2 separate regions of the Homo sapiens genome follow, and region 2 is linked to region 1. The links are contacts of gene promoters, found by promoter capture Hi-C in blood cells and fetal thymus (Javierre and others, 2016). All regions are on one chromosome and are shown on one strand. Each heading gives the region's core, a stretch centred on a gene start or on the middle of the fragment in contact. The rest is flanking DNA. Distances are from core to core; before and after follow the strand shown.

The links. The method cuts DNA at HindIII sites, captures the fragments that hold promoters and counts their contacts. A CHiCAGO score of 5 or more calls a contact.
Region 2: a contact is called between a fragment that was not itself captured here and the fragment with the promoter of TPCN1 in region 1, in 1 of 17 cell types (neutrophils). The highest score is 6.4, in neutrophils.

Annotation. Positions count from the first base shown.
Region 1 is chr12:113,218,464-113,225,734 of GRCh38, forward strand. It overlaps TPCN1 (two pore segment channel 1), which reads left to right and starts at 3,001. Exons shown (of 28, transcript NM_017901.6): 1 at 3,001-3,163. It overlaps DRC10 (dynein regulatory complex subunit 10), which reads right to left and starts at 2,631. Exons shown (of 5, transcript NM_001330452.2): 1 at 2,534-2,631. RefSeq lists enhancers at 2,230-2,379, 5,710-5,879, 7,253-7,271 and a silencer at 4,701-4,995. The HindIII fragment of the contact is 6,265 bases long and covers 1-3,868 here.
Region 2 is chr12:124,916,751-124,924,021 of GRCh38, forward strand. It overlaps TRA-TGC3-2 (tRNA-Ala (anticodon TGC) 3-2), which reads right to left and starts at 5,076; the gene lies at 5,005-5,076. RefSeq lists enhancers at 1-452, 1-231, 4,282-4,471, 4,307-4,985, 4,552-4,871 and 2 more, a silencer at 2,304-2,453 and a cis regulatory region at 4,527-4,697. The HindIII fragment of the contact is 6,001 bases long and covers 1,443-7,271 here.

The DNA.
Region 1 (7,271 bases), core at 1,751-4,250:
CAGGGTCTTACTCTGTCACGCAGGCTAGAGTGCAGCAGTGCAACCATGGATTACTGTAGCCTTGACCTCCCCAGGCTCAGGTGATCCTCCCACCTCAGCCTTCTGAATAGTTGGGACTACAGGTGCATACCACCATGCCTGGCTAATTTTTGTATTTTTTGTAGAGATAGGGTCTCACTTTGTTACCAGGCTCCTAGGCTCAAACTCCTAGGCTCAAACTAGGATCCTCCTGCCTTGGCCTCCCAAATTGCTGGGATTACAGGCGTGAGCCACTGGGCCAAAAACCCTCAACTTAACATGTTTTTGAGGTTCATCCAGGTTGTAGCAATTATTAGTATTTCATTCCTGAATAGTATTTTATTGCTGAATAGTATTCCATTCTAAGGAAATATCATGAGTTATTTATTTATTCACCTGTTGATGACATTTGGGTTGTTTCCAGTTTTGGGCTGTTAAGGGTGATGTTGCTAAGAACATTTATATTTAAGTCTTTGTGTGGACTTATGTTTTCACTTGGGAGGGGTAACTTCCTAAGAGTGGAATTGCTAGGTTATGTGTAAGTTTATTTTTTGTTTTATTTATTTATTTTTGAGACAGGGTCTCACTCTGTCACATAGACTGGAGTGCAGTGGCACGATCTCGGCTCACTGCAACCTCCGCCTCCTGGGTTCAGGTGATTCTCCTGCCTCAGCCTCCCAAATGGCTGGGATTACAGGGACCCGCCAGCATGCCCTGCTAATTTTTGTATTTTTAGTAGAGACGGGGTTTTGCTATGTTGGCCAGGCTGGTCTCGAACTCCTGACCTCAGGTGATCCACCTGCCTGTGCCTCCTACAGTGCTGGGATTACAGGCACGAGCCACTGTGCCTGGCCTATGTTTAACTTTTTAAGAAACTGCCAACTATATTTCAGATTGGTGGTACCAATTGGTATTCTGCTGTACCTACCGGCAACATATGAAAGCTACAGTTTGTTTATTTATCTACATGATGATACTTGGTATTGTCTTTTTGATTTTTAAATGTCTACTCAACTCTTTTGCCCATTAAAAAAATTGAGTTGTCCTCTTATTGAGTTATAAGAGTTATTTTTATATTCTATATACAACTCTTTTATGACACATGATTTGCAAATATTTCCTCCATGTCTGTGTCTGTGGCTGATCTTTTCATTTTCTTATGAAAATATCTTTTGAACCTCAAAGTTTTTTTTTTATATATTTTTTTGAGACAGGGTTTTTCGCTCTGTCGCCCAGGCTGGAGTGCAGTAGTGCAATCATGGCTCACCGCAACCTCCGCCTCTTGCGATCAAGCAATTCTCCCACCTCAGCCTTATTTATTTATTTATTTATTTATTTATTTTTTGAGCTGGAGTCTCGCTCTATCACCCAGACTGGAGTGCAGTGGCACGATCTCGGCTCGCTGCAACCTCCACCACCCGGGTTCAAGAAATTCTCCCGCTCAGCCTCCTGAGTAGCTGGGATCACAGGCACACGCCACCAGGCCCGGCTAATTTTTGTATTTTTAGTAGAGACAGGGTTTCACCATGTTGGCCAGGCTAGTCGCAAACTCCTGGCCTCAGGTGATCTGCTGGCCCAGGTGATCTGCTGGCCTCGGCCTCCCAAAGTGCTGGGATTACAGGCTGAGCCACCGCGCCCGGCCCTTAGCCTCATTTAATCATCACAAGAAACTCTCTGTCTTCAGTAGGTACAATGAGATCACATCTTAAGGATGGAGATGGGAGTTAAATTCCAAAGTTAGGATAAAGGCAAAAGTGGTGTAATAAAAATTACCTAATTTATTTATTTATTTGAGACAGAGTCTTGCTCTGTTGCCCGGGCTGGAGTGCAATGGCGCTATCTTGGCTTACTGCAACCTAAGTCTCCCGGGTTCAAGTGATTCTCGTGCCTTAGCCTCCCGAGTAGTTGGGATTACAGGTGCGCCTCCATGCTCAGCTAATTTTTGTATTTTCAGTAGAGATGGGGTTTCACCATACTGGCTAGGCTGGCCTAGAACTCCTGACCTCAAGTGATCTGCCCGCCTCGGCCTCCCAAAGTGCTGGGATTACAGGCGTGAGCCACCATGCTCGGCAAAAACAACAACAACAACAACAAAACAAACAAACAAAACTACCTAATTTAAACACTGAAGTGAGATTGCCTGCTCACCGAGGAACGTATGGCCGTTGGGTGAAATGGGAGGGGACTTATAAACTCCCCTCCCACCCACAGCTCCCATGTTTGACTTGAAATAAGTTAACTACGATATGACTCTGCTTGACTGTTGTCCTCCTCGTTTTAGGGATGAGGGAGTGGAGCCATGAAGTGGGCAGGTAGAAGGGCAGAATGGAGGCCGGCTCCCTGCAGGTTGTGGAGCGAAAGGTCCAGACTAAGGCAGGAGCTGAGGGACAGGGTCCTGAAGCTGAGACGAGATCGCAGCGGGGGCTTCTAATTCCTCAGGGAGCCAAAGGACAGAGGGCTGAACCCTATTCCACATCTCCCCCGATCCGCGACCCTTTCCCAACTGGCTACTCACCTGCTCTGACCGCTCCAGGTTTCCCTAGCCACAGTTACCGCCGCGGTCCCTGCGTTGCTAGGTTACCCGCCAATCTCAGAAGGCGAGACTCGGTGTCTGACTGACCTTTCTTTTCACCATTCAATTTATTGTTCCGCTCAGTTGTCCCCACCTCCTGAAGTCTGACCAATCAGAAGCACCGCCATTTTGACCTTTCACCAATGGAAAGACTTGGGACTCCCTCTGGGTTGGACTCAACGAGTAAGGCGGGGAACAAGGGAGGAGTAAGGGGCGTGGATTCTTCGTCCCGCCCCTTCTTAAGGAGGCGGGCAGGGAGTACCGCATCGGCGGCGGGCGAGACCTGCGGAAGGACGTGATAGTTGGCCAATCAGAGTTCATCACGGTAGCCCAGTTAGCCAGTAGGACGCTGTGAAGGGGAAATGGGGCGGGGCCAGCGGGGTTGAGAGGACGGTAGGCGGTGGATAGGAGAGCTGGCGCAGCTGCCCTGGTGGCAGTGGCTGAAGTGGCGGCGGCTTCGGCGGCTGCGGCGGCTGCAACAGCTTCGGGCTCGGGGTTTTGGCGGCGGCGCCGGCGGGCTAGGCTGCGCGGTGCGGACCCCGGCGCGCGGTCCGGGTTGCTGGGGCGGCGCGTGTAAGAATCCGAGGGATGCGACGGCTTGGCCCGAGGGAGAGGGCAGGGATCAGGGGTCAGAGGACGCGGAGTAAGGGGTTGCGGCGCAGCACTCTGGTGTGGGAGGTGGGCCGTACGGGCCCAGAGGGGGCGCAGGGAAGTCTCCACCGCGCTTCTCTCCGTCCAGCCCGGGCCGGGGCTTTGCACCCTCTCTCCTCGCCCCCGACTTCTTAGGGCGACCCTCACGTGGGCTCCCAGCCAGGGGCTGGGAGCACGTGGAGCTGGAGCCAGCTGTCCTGCCTCCTTCTTCCTCCCTCCCTCGCTCTTCTCCCTGGCGCCCTTAGGTGACCCCACAGGAGTCTTGTGCCTGGGTCAGGCTGCCCCAGCGGACAGCGGGATGGTAGCTGAACCTCTTCCCCTAGGCCCTTTCCCCAGCGCTGGCCAGTTGGGTCCTCTGTAGAGGCAGAAGCAAAGCCCGCGGAGGGAACACTGGACCAGGACGCAGGAGTCCCGGGTTCTAGCCCTACTCCTCCACTGTGTGACCTTGGGCAAGTCTCTTCCCCTCTCTGGGCCTCATTTTTGTCTGTCTGGAAAAATGACGTGTTTGAATTCAAATCAGGGGACTGGTTCTAGTCGTAGGTGTATATAGGGTAATGGTTAAGCAGGCAGGGTCCCTGATTCAGACTGCCTGGGTTGAAACTTATAAAAGGCAAGTTAACCACTCCAAGCTTCAATTTCCTCATTCCTAAAGTGGGGATATTAGCTAAGATAGGATTTTTCAACAGCAGCTCAGTTGACATTTTGAGCCACATAATTCTGTTTCGGGAGGTCTCACCTGTGCATTGAAGCAAGTTCAGTGGCATACCTGGACTCCACCCACCAGCAATCCCCCCACTCCCAAGTTGTGACAGTCAAGATGTCTCCAGACATTGCCGATGTCCCCATGGGGGCAAAAATCACCCCAGTTGAAAGCCAGTGGGCAAAGGCAGTACAGGCAGGCAAGCAGTCATATATTAAACAGTTAAACAACCGTGTTGAAGCATTTGAATGCGAGGACTTTAATCTATGGTGGCAGATATCATGAAAATTATGCATGAACAACCCCCCTGCCTCTTTTTTTTTAGCTCATCATTAATGGTAGTGTATTTTATGTGTGGCCCAAGATAGTTCTTCCAGCGTGGCCCAGGGAAGCCAAAAGGTTGGACAGCCGTGAGTTAAAACATAGAAACCACTAGCCATTATGATAATGGTAACATTAAGAAACCTCTTCTCTGTGAGTTAATAAATTCTCCTGCCTTCAAAGTAAACATGGGAGATAATTGTCAAAGCTGAGTAATGGATACAAGGAAGTTCACGTATATATTCTCTGCACTTTTGAGAATGTTTGAAAATATCTGTGGTAAAAAGTTAAACCAAAACGACAATACAACCATAATTCTTAAGACTGCCAAATAGTAGTGTCTCATCTGGGATTTCCTCTTCTGCCTTTCCACTGCTGAGATTTAAAAGCAAAATAAATCCCCAGATCTGGAGGAAACTTAAGAAAAAAAAACTCACAGGAAGTGTGCTGGGCAGAGAGCTACGGGCTTAGCAGCAAGTAGAATGATGTTTACTTTCGCTGCCTTGTTTCAAAACGTTGTACTGTTCCCTGTGGATGCACAAGGATTTGCTTGGAGTTGTTCCAATGATTCGAGGAAGAAGTCAGTTGCTCAGCTGCCATTGACTAGGTCAGTTGGGAGGCAAAGTGGGTTGAGCCCAGAGCCCACAGCTTGAGGAAGGAACCTGCTGCTGTTTGCAAGTTCAAAGGTCTGCAGTCAGATCTGCTGAGTCTTTTTTTTTTTTTTTTTGGTTCTTCTCAGCGGAAACGGGAATGTGCATAAATAGGAGCTGTAACAGGCTAGCTCGGAGTGTTTTACTTATTTAGTTATTTTTAAATTTTTAGTTTATTTATTTTTTGAGATGGAGTCTCGCTCTGTCGCCCAGGCTGGAGTGTAGTGGCGTGATCTCAGTTCACTGCAACCTCTGCCTCCTGGGTTCAAGTGATTCTCCTGCTTCAGGCTCCCCAGTAGCTGGGATTACAGGCATGCACCACCACACCTGGCTAATTTTTGTATTTTTAGTAGAGACCAGGTTTCGCCATGTTGGCCAGGCTGGTCTCAAACTCCTGACCTCAAGCGATCCACCTGCCTCGGCCTCTCAAAATGTTGGGATTACAGGCATGAGCCACCACTCCCGGCTGCTCTGAGTGTTTTAAATTGGGAGTTAAGGATGAGCACTTTTACTGTATTAAAAAATACTCACCAGTTAAAAAAAAATACTCTTTTCCCCTTCCTCGGACACCTAAATCTAAGAGAACAACTCCTATATAAAAATGATATAAAAATCATACATTTTGGAAGTATGTTTCTAACTGTTCTGAGAGGCTGCATGGTAAAGCTGAAGTGAAAGATGTATTTTAAATCTGTATATATGAGCAAGTATATATTGATGATTGAAGCTAGGTGCTGCCTAAATACATGGCCCAGACTTTGAGGAATTATAGTGTAATGGCTGGGAATACAGGTTTGGAGTCACACCGTAGAGCTGAAAGCTTGGCTTTTATTTAGCTGTGGGTCCTTGGGCAGGATACGTAATCTGTCTGTGCCTGAAATACCCACCACACCCATCCTGTAATGGGGGGATAATAAGCCTGCCTATCTCATGGGGCTATTAAGAATTTTCAGTTAACTTTTACTTATGAAGTGCTAGTAGGGTCCCTCATACATAGTACGCACTCATTGAGTATTAACTATTATTATTATTACTATTTTGAGACGAGTCTCGCTCTGTCGCCCAGGCTGGAGTGCAGTGGTGCAATCTCGGCTCACTGCAAGCTCCGCCTCCCGGGTTCACGCCTTTCTCCTGCCTCAACCTCCTGAGCAGCTGGGACTACAGGCGTCTGCCACCACGCCCGGCTAATTTTTTGTATTTTTAGTAGAGACGGGGTTTCACCATGTTAGCCAGGATGGTCTTGATCTCCTGACCTCGTGATCCGCCCGCCTCGGCCTCCCAAAGTGCTGGGATTACAGGCATGAGCCACCGCGCCTGGCCGCATATTAACTATTATTTTAATGGTTGTATTTTTTTGTCATTTAATTTAATTAAATTAATTTATTTATTTATTTGAGGTGGAATCTGGCTCTGTCGCCCAGGCTGCAGTGCAGTGCACCATCTCGGCTCACTGCAACCTCTGCCTCCTGGGTTCAAGTGATTCTCCTGCCTCAGCCTACAGAGTAGCTGGGATTACAGGCGCAAGCCACCACACCCAGCTAATTTTTGTATCTTTAATAGAGGCGGGGTTTCTTCATTTTGGCCAGGCTGGTCTTGAACTCCTGAGCTCAAGTGATCCACCCGTCTCTGCCTCCCAAAGTGCTGGGATTACAGTTGTAAGCCACCGTGCCCAGCCTTTTATTTTACTTTATTTTTTAGAGACAGGGTCTCACTCTGTTGTCCAGGCTGGACTGCAGTGGTGTGATCATAGCTCACTATAACCTCCAACTCCTGGGATCAAGTGTTTCCGTCACCTCAGCCTCCCAAGCAGCTAGGCCTACAGGCATATGCCATCATACCCAGCTAATTTAAAATTTTTTATTTTGTAGAGATGGAGTCTTGCTACATTGCCCAGGCTGGTCTTGAACTGCTAGGCTCAAGCAGTTCTCCCACCTTGACCTCCCAAAGCGCTGAGATTACAGGTGGGAGCCACTGTGCCCAGCCTATTTTTTTCTTTGAAGTCTTTACAAAACTTACAAATAAATGTAAAGAGAAGTGGAGGTAGGACATATTGGCCCTAATGTCACTCTCCAGACAGAATTACCCTTAACTTTTCAGTATTTGTTCTTGCAGGGTTCCCTCCCTCCGTATTTTAATGCTATTATACTGTAATAATGCTTTTATTCTGTTTTTATTTATTTATTTATCTTTATTTTATTTTTTTGAGACAGAGTCTCGCCCTGTCACCCAGGCTGGATGGCTCTATCTCGGTTCACTGCAACCTCTGCCTTCCGGGTTCAAGCGATTCTCCTGCCTCAGCTTCTTGAGTAGCTGGGATTACCGGCACGTGCCACCCCGCCCAGCTAATTTTTTGAATTTT
Region 2 (7,271 bases), core at 3,193-5,692, about 12 Mb after region 1:
TTAAATGGTTATTGAAGCAAACAGAAATAAACCTTTCTCCAAAGTCACTGAGGTGACAGGGAAGAAAATGGCCTCCCAAAACGCAGGTGTCTGATGTTTCTCTACAACAATGGTTCTCAACAAGGAGTGATTTGCTCTTTCAGGGGACATTTGGCAATATCTGGAGATATTCTTGGTTGTCACAACTCAGGGGAGGTTAGGGGATGCTACTACTAATACTAGCACTGTTGGTAGACACCAGGGATGCCACTGAACATTCTATGAGGGACAGTCCCCCACAACAAAGAATTATCAGACCCAACATATTAATAGTGCTGAAATTAAGAAACCCTGTCCTACAAAGGATTTTTGTTGTTGCAACAACTGCTTTTCTGTTTTCCGAAAGGGTTCCCAAAGTCTAAATGTCCCACTTGGACTCAGGAGTCAGGTATCAAGTCACGCTCTTAAAACCTAAACCCTGCTGACCTAGAATGCGATGTGCTAGAATGTGCAAGAATCGGGATGAGTCACTGGATCCGTTTTCAGTTCGTTCCACCCACAGATCCGTCCTTTGCAGGCGCCCCAGAAAAGATTGCTTCAGAGCTGGCACCAATGGAGAAGGGACAGAGGCCCAGCAACAGGGCGGGATTGGCAGGCGGAAGGGAGCGTGTGATGAGCTGAGCTCACAAAGGGCCGGGGTGCTGGGCTGCAGCTGGGGAGGGCGGGGTTGGATCAGCGCCTGCTCCTCCGCCTTCGTTTTTCCCCTCCCCCTAAGGATTCAGTTCCCCCTTCTGAAATTCACCACCTTGTATGTGACTTAATCCAGCCCCATGAAACTGTCTGAGAGCATGAGTGAGGGTCAACAAACTTGCTTCCCCCAAGAAAAAGGGTGGAATCAGAGAGGTGGTGGGAAGGGTTTGCCTTGCTTTGTCATCGCTTATATAACCATAAAAGGTTGTCAAGGACGCCTGCAGGTTAGAGGCCTGGCAAACAGGAAGTAAAAAAAAAAAACCTGGGGAATGTGTTCTTCTTCCTGTTTCTGCTTGTGCTGTATAACTGTGTGGTGGAACACAAACCGCTCCAGCTTAAAAATAACCCATTCATCTCAGCGGTCAAAACCGGACTTAGCTAGTCTCCAAATTTGCCTACTTTAGGAACATTAGGAAGTTATTTAACCTATTTGGGCTTTGTTTGTGTCGTCGTTTGGTTTTGTCTTAAAATTGTGGTAAAATACACATAAAATTTACCATTCTTAAGTGTACATTTCTGTAGCATGAAGTACATTCAGTATTGTGCATCAGCCATCACCACCAAGCCATTTCTGGAGCTCTTTTCGTCTTGCAAAACAAACTCTGTCCCCATGAAAAACTGATTCCCCATTTCTCCCTCCCACCAGCCCCTGGCATCCACCATTCTACTTTCTGTCTCTATGAATTTGACAACTCATGTGACCTCATATAATAAGCTTTGTTTAAGGGTAAAATAAAATTTAATAGTTGAAAAAGCACTTTTTTCAAAGAGTATTTCTAGGAAGCTCCAATTCCTGACACCAACCTTTAACAATAACAACTCCCTGCGGTATTTTTTTTCCTTGTCATGCACTAGTAGAAATATTTGGCTTTGTTTCTTTGTTTTTTGAAACAGTATCTCGCTCTGTCATGCAGTGGTATGATCACGGCTCACTCTGCAGCCTGGATGTTCCGGATCAGGTGATCCTCCCACCTCAGCCTTCTGTGTAGGTAGGACTACAGGTATGCGCCACCACACCTAATTTTTGCATTTTTTGTAGAGAGGAGGGTTTCGCACTTTGGGAGGCTGAGGCCGGTGGATCACCTGAGGTCAGGTGTTCGAGACCAACCTGTCCAACATGCTGAAACTCCATCTCTACTAAAAATACAAAAATTATCAGGTGTGGTAGCTCACGCCTGTAATCCCAGCTACTCCAGAGGCTGAGGCAGGAGAATCACTTGAGCCCTGAAGTCAGAGGTTGCAGTGAGTCGAGATCGTGCCACTGCACTCCAGCCTGGGTGACAGTGAGACTCTGTCTCCAAAAAATAAAATAAGAGATGGGGGTTTCACCATGTTGCCCAGGCTGGTCTTGAACTCCTGGGCTCAAGTGATCCTTCTGCCCTGGCCTCCCACAGGGCTGGGAATACAGACATGAGCTAATGTGCCTGGCTGAAATATTTAATTATAAGGTACAAAGTAATGTCATATAAGTGTGGGGTCATAGTAAGAAATAAAAAATAAAAATAAAAAATATTGAAAAAAATAGCCAGGCATGGTGGCCTACACGTGTAATCCCAGCATTTTTGGGAGGCCAACGTGAGAGGGTCACTTCAGCCCAGGAGTTAAACACCAGCTGAGCTACATGGTGAAACCCTGTCTCTACCAAAACAAACAAACAAAAATTAGCCAGGCGGTGGTGCATGCCTGTAGTTCCAGCTGCTCAGGAGGATGAGGTGGGAGGATCACTTGAGCCCAGGAGTTTGAGGCTGCAGTGAGCTGTGATTGCACCACAGCACTCCAGCCTGGGCAACAGAAACAGACCCTGTCTCAAGCAAAATAAATAAATAAATAAACAAAAGAAGAAACAAAGTAAAACAGAAGTGAAACTGCCTTTGCAAAAGTCATAACAGAAAATTATTACAGTGAAAGAGATCTGACCTCACTGACTCCATCTCGCGTCTAACCTCCAAACTGTCTTTGTTCATTCCTAGGTGTAGGCTGAACTGACTTTGGAGGAGCTTAGTTTATAGTTTAATTCTGAAACAAAGGTGATAGCCTTTTCCTAAAACAAGCCCCCTTCCTGCCTGCGCACTAGACTGCTTTGCAGGACTAACAAATTGGCCACAAGATTACAAATTATGGTTTAGGAGTCACGCAGCTGGAGACTGCAAGATTCTGTCCATGCTGAAATTGCTCCTGAGGATAACATCACTATTGTAAAACCTAAGACCAGTGCTTGAGATATTTTGCATACTCTGCACTCAGTGGGCCGACTGACACCACCCAGATTGATAAACTGGCTCATCTGGTCTTGTGGCCCCCACCTAGGAACTGACTCAGGGCAAAGGGACAGCTTCGACTCCCTGTGATTTCATCTCCGACCCAACCAATCAGTACTCCCGATTTCCCGACCTCCCTACACACCAAATTATCCTTCAAAACTCCAATCCCTGAGTTTTCAGGGAGACTGATTTGAGTAATAGTAAAACTCCCGTCTCCCACACTGCCAGCTGTGTGTGAATTAAACGTTCTCTATTATGGCAGGGCGAGGTGGCTTGCGCCTGTAATCCCAGCACTTCGGGAGGCTGAGGTGGGCGGATCACAGTTTCCCTGTCCTAATAAATGGGCTCTGTCTAGGCAGCGGGCAAGGAGAAACTGTTGGGCAGTTACAGAAGCATGTAAGTTTTGTGTTAGGCCTGATGACTTCAGAAATTATCTTCAATGATTTTCCCCTAAAACCTTGTTGACATTTAGGGAGAAATAACCTTTCCTGAAGCTCATTAGAAACAAGCTGTCACCAATGCGTCACCACCTAACTGGTGAGTCAGTTCGCAAGTTTCATTTTCTTCATCTCAAAAATGAAAGCTCTAGATCTAGGATTAGACGCTTTTACCATTTAAAACATGAAGTCAAGTCAAATGAAAGAAAGGGGCTGACAGGTGAGGAATTCATTATAATTGCAAAGAACTGTACCACAGAATGCAGCCGAATCCCTTCTTTCATTCTTATTATTATTTAGAGAGCTGGGAACTGGTTAAACTTTAAAAAATATAATTTATTTTTATGTATTTATTTTTGCCTAAAGATCATTCATGCAAGTAAATCAATCTCCCCTCCCCTCCCCTTCCCCTTTCCCTCCCCTTCCCCTTCCTTTCCTTTCCTTTCCTTTCCGAGCCAAGGTCTCCCTTTGTTGCCCAGGCTGCTTTCAAACTCCTGGCCTCAAGCAATTCTCCTGCCTCATGCCTCCCAAAGTGCTGGGATTACAGGCCTGAGCCACCATCTTTTGCTTTCAGTGATAAAACACAGAAACACAGTGGAGGTGAAAGCAACTCCATCTTGGTTGCTAATCCACCAAGATAACTTCCGATTAATGCCTCTTCCAGGAAGGTCTCTAAGATTTCTACTTTACTGTTACCATAAATTCTGCCCTTAGATCAGAACAACCTAGATCATAAATCCTTCCCTTATGCGGATTCACATAACATTCTTGCCTTGCTTGAGGGGTCAACTTCAATTGTCCTACATATATTCCTTCCCTATGGTATGGAAGCCCTGGGCCGGGGGTTATGGCGCAGCAAACCTTATATCCTCTGATGACCACCCTGAGACTATGGCTTCTGTTGGTAAGTCCCTAATAAATGTTTTTTCCTGAGAAACTGGGTTTGTCAACCCCTTTCTTTGGCCTCTCAGCTCCCTTGGCCTTTGGGGTAGGTTTGCATAGGCCTGCTCACCCCGGAACACAGTGTATGAATATAAATGTAAATTGCACTTGCATTACAGCCGTGGAGACGTGTTGCTGAGGAAGCAGAGAGCAAAGCCCCGCTGGGATGTGAGTTTGCTTCTGGGTTCCTCCCATGCAAATGAGGTGGTTCGTGGCAGTGCAGAGGAGGAGTGAGATGGCAAACAGGGGGGCCCAGACCTTCCAGCAACTTACACACTTGCCCTCTGATGGCCAAGAATGCGTCAACAGCCCTCGAGGCCAGTGCAGTACAATCATGGTGGCACGAGATGTGGTGTACACTCCCCAAATGATCATCCTGCTCACTTTTGCTGTGGTTTCAGTCATCAAGTCAGGTTTTGCCTTAACACTTTTCTGCTGATTACTCCCATCAGCCTCTTCTAACTCATGTGCATTTGAAACATTAGAGATTTCAGAATGGGAAGATCACACCTGGTGTGAGAATCTGAGCTCCAAGTAGTGCCTGGAATCACAATGCTTATGATAATCACATCCATGGCACTTTAATGATAAAGAACCACGGACCAAAACGAATACAGAAAGCAACAAAACTACAATGGAGATGCCGGGGATCGAACCCGGGGCCTCATACATGCAAAGCATGCGCTCTACCACTGAGCTACATCCCCCTCCCTTTCCTGTACTTGCTTTTGGAAGTCCTTGCTATACTCTATTCTTAAAGGCGTTTTTCCTGTTTCCACGTGTTTCATTTTTATTTTTGGTTTTTATTATTGTTTGGACGCATAACAATTGTGCACATTTATGAGGTGTGGTGTGATGTTGTGATCTATGTACACAATTTGTAATGTTCAAATCAGGGCAATGACCACATCCATCCCTTCAAACATGTATCATTTCTCTGTGCTGGGAGACATTAAAAATCCACGCTTCCAGCTATTTGAAAACGTACAATAAGTTGTTGTATTCACTCTATAGGGACACTGGAACTTATTCCTCCTATTCAGCTGTACTTTTGTATCCAGTAACCCCCCTTTGGCTATCCCACCTCCCCCCACCTTCACTACCTGCAGTAACCACTATTCTCTCTGTGAGACCAACTATTTCAGCTTCCGCACGTGAGTGAGATCATGCAGTATTTATCTTTCTGTGCCCGGTTTATTTCACTTTATGTAATGTCGCCCAAACTTAGCCATGTTTTTATTTTTGTTTCGTAGAGGAAAAATGACAGGATTTCATTTTGTTTTGTATTTTTTTAAGGTCGAATAGTATTCTATTGCGTATGTACACATTTTCTCTATCCATGTATCTGTTGACGGACACATCTAGGCACTTATGAATAAAGCTGCAATACACACGGGAGTGCGAGAGGCTTTTAGTTTTTGGTTGGTTGGTTTGTTTTGAGACAGAGTTTTGCTCTGTCGCCCAGGCTGGAGTGCAGTGGCATGATCTGGGCTCACTGCAACCTCCGCCTCCTGGGTTCAAGCGATTCTCCTGCCTCAGCCTCCCGAGTAGCTGGGACTACAGGCGTGCACCACCACGCCTGCTAATTTCTGTATTTTTAGTAGAGATGGGGGGGGGTTCAGCATGTTGGCCAGGCTGGTCTCGAACTCCTGACCTCAGGTGATCTGCACCCCTTGGCCTCCCAAAGTGCTGGGATTACAGGCGTGAGCCACTGCGCCCAGCCAAGGATATTTTCTAAATTAAACTTTTGTGTGTTTAAGTGAGTGTTAGAGTTTAGCAAAACCACCACAACAACAAAAAATTGTTTTATGTTTCCCAAGTAGGTTAGCTCTTCATAACCTTGCAACTAAAATTCTAGCGGATACCAGAACCAAGGAACAAATGTAAACTGACCCATTCTTAAATGTTCCTCTTCACAGACAGAAGAGAAGAGAAGGAAAATCGAGTTTCTTTCCAACAAATAAGGGCATTGGCTTGATTGTACCTTCACCCAGAAACCTCTGATTTCTCATCCTTTAAAACCATACCAACCTTCAGTGACTTTGAGGTTTGCATATCAGCTGGAAGACATTTTTTCCTCCCAAAAGAACTATTATGGCCGTGCGCCATGGCTCATGCCTGTAATCCCAGCACTTTGAGAGGTAGAGGTCGGCGGATCACTTGAGGCCAAGAGTTTGAGACCAGCCTGGCCAACATGGCGTGAACCCCGTCTCTACCAAAAATACAAAAAATTAGCCGGATGTGGTGGCGAGCGCTTGTAGTCCCAGCTACTCGGGAGGCTAAGGCGAGAGGATTTTTGGAGCCCAGGAGGCAGTGGTTGCAGTAAGCCAAGATCATCCCACAGCACGCCAGCCTGGGAGACAGAGGGAGACCACATCTAAAAAAAAAAAAAAAAAAAAAAAATCCGTCTGAATATAAATATCAGCAAACTGAAAAGAAACATATCCACTTCCCAGAATGAGGGCTTCAGCTTGGAGGAAGGAGTCTCTTTACAATTGCCCACCGAAAAGAGCCATTCTTTTTGTTTGTTTGTTTGTTTGTTTTTTTGAGACCGAGTCTCGCTTTGTCGCCCAGGCTAGAGTGCAGTGGCAGGATCTTGGCTCACTGCAGCCACCGCGTCCCGGGTTCAAACGATTCTCCTGCCTCAGGCTCCTGAGTAGCTGGGATTACAGGCGTGCACCACTACGCCCAGCTAATTTTTGTATTTTTAGTAGAGACGGGGTTTCACCATGTTGGTCAAGCTAGTCTCAAACTCCTGACCTCGTTATCCGCCCCCTGCCCCCCTCCCGCCCGCCCCAGCCTCCCAAAGTGCTGGGATTACAGGCGTGAGTCACCGTGCCCGGCCCTAAGAGCCATTCTTAAACTGTGAATTTGCATCTCTCTTCCAGAGGGTTTCTTAAGC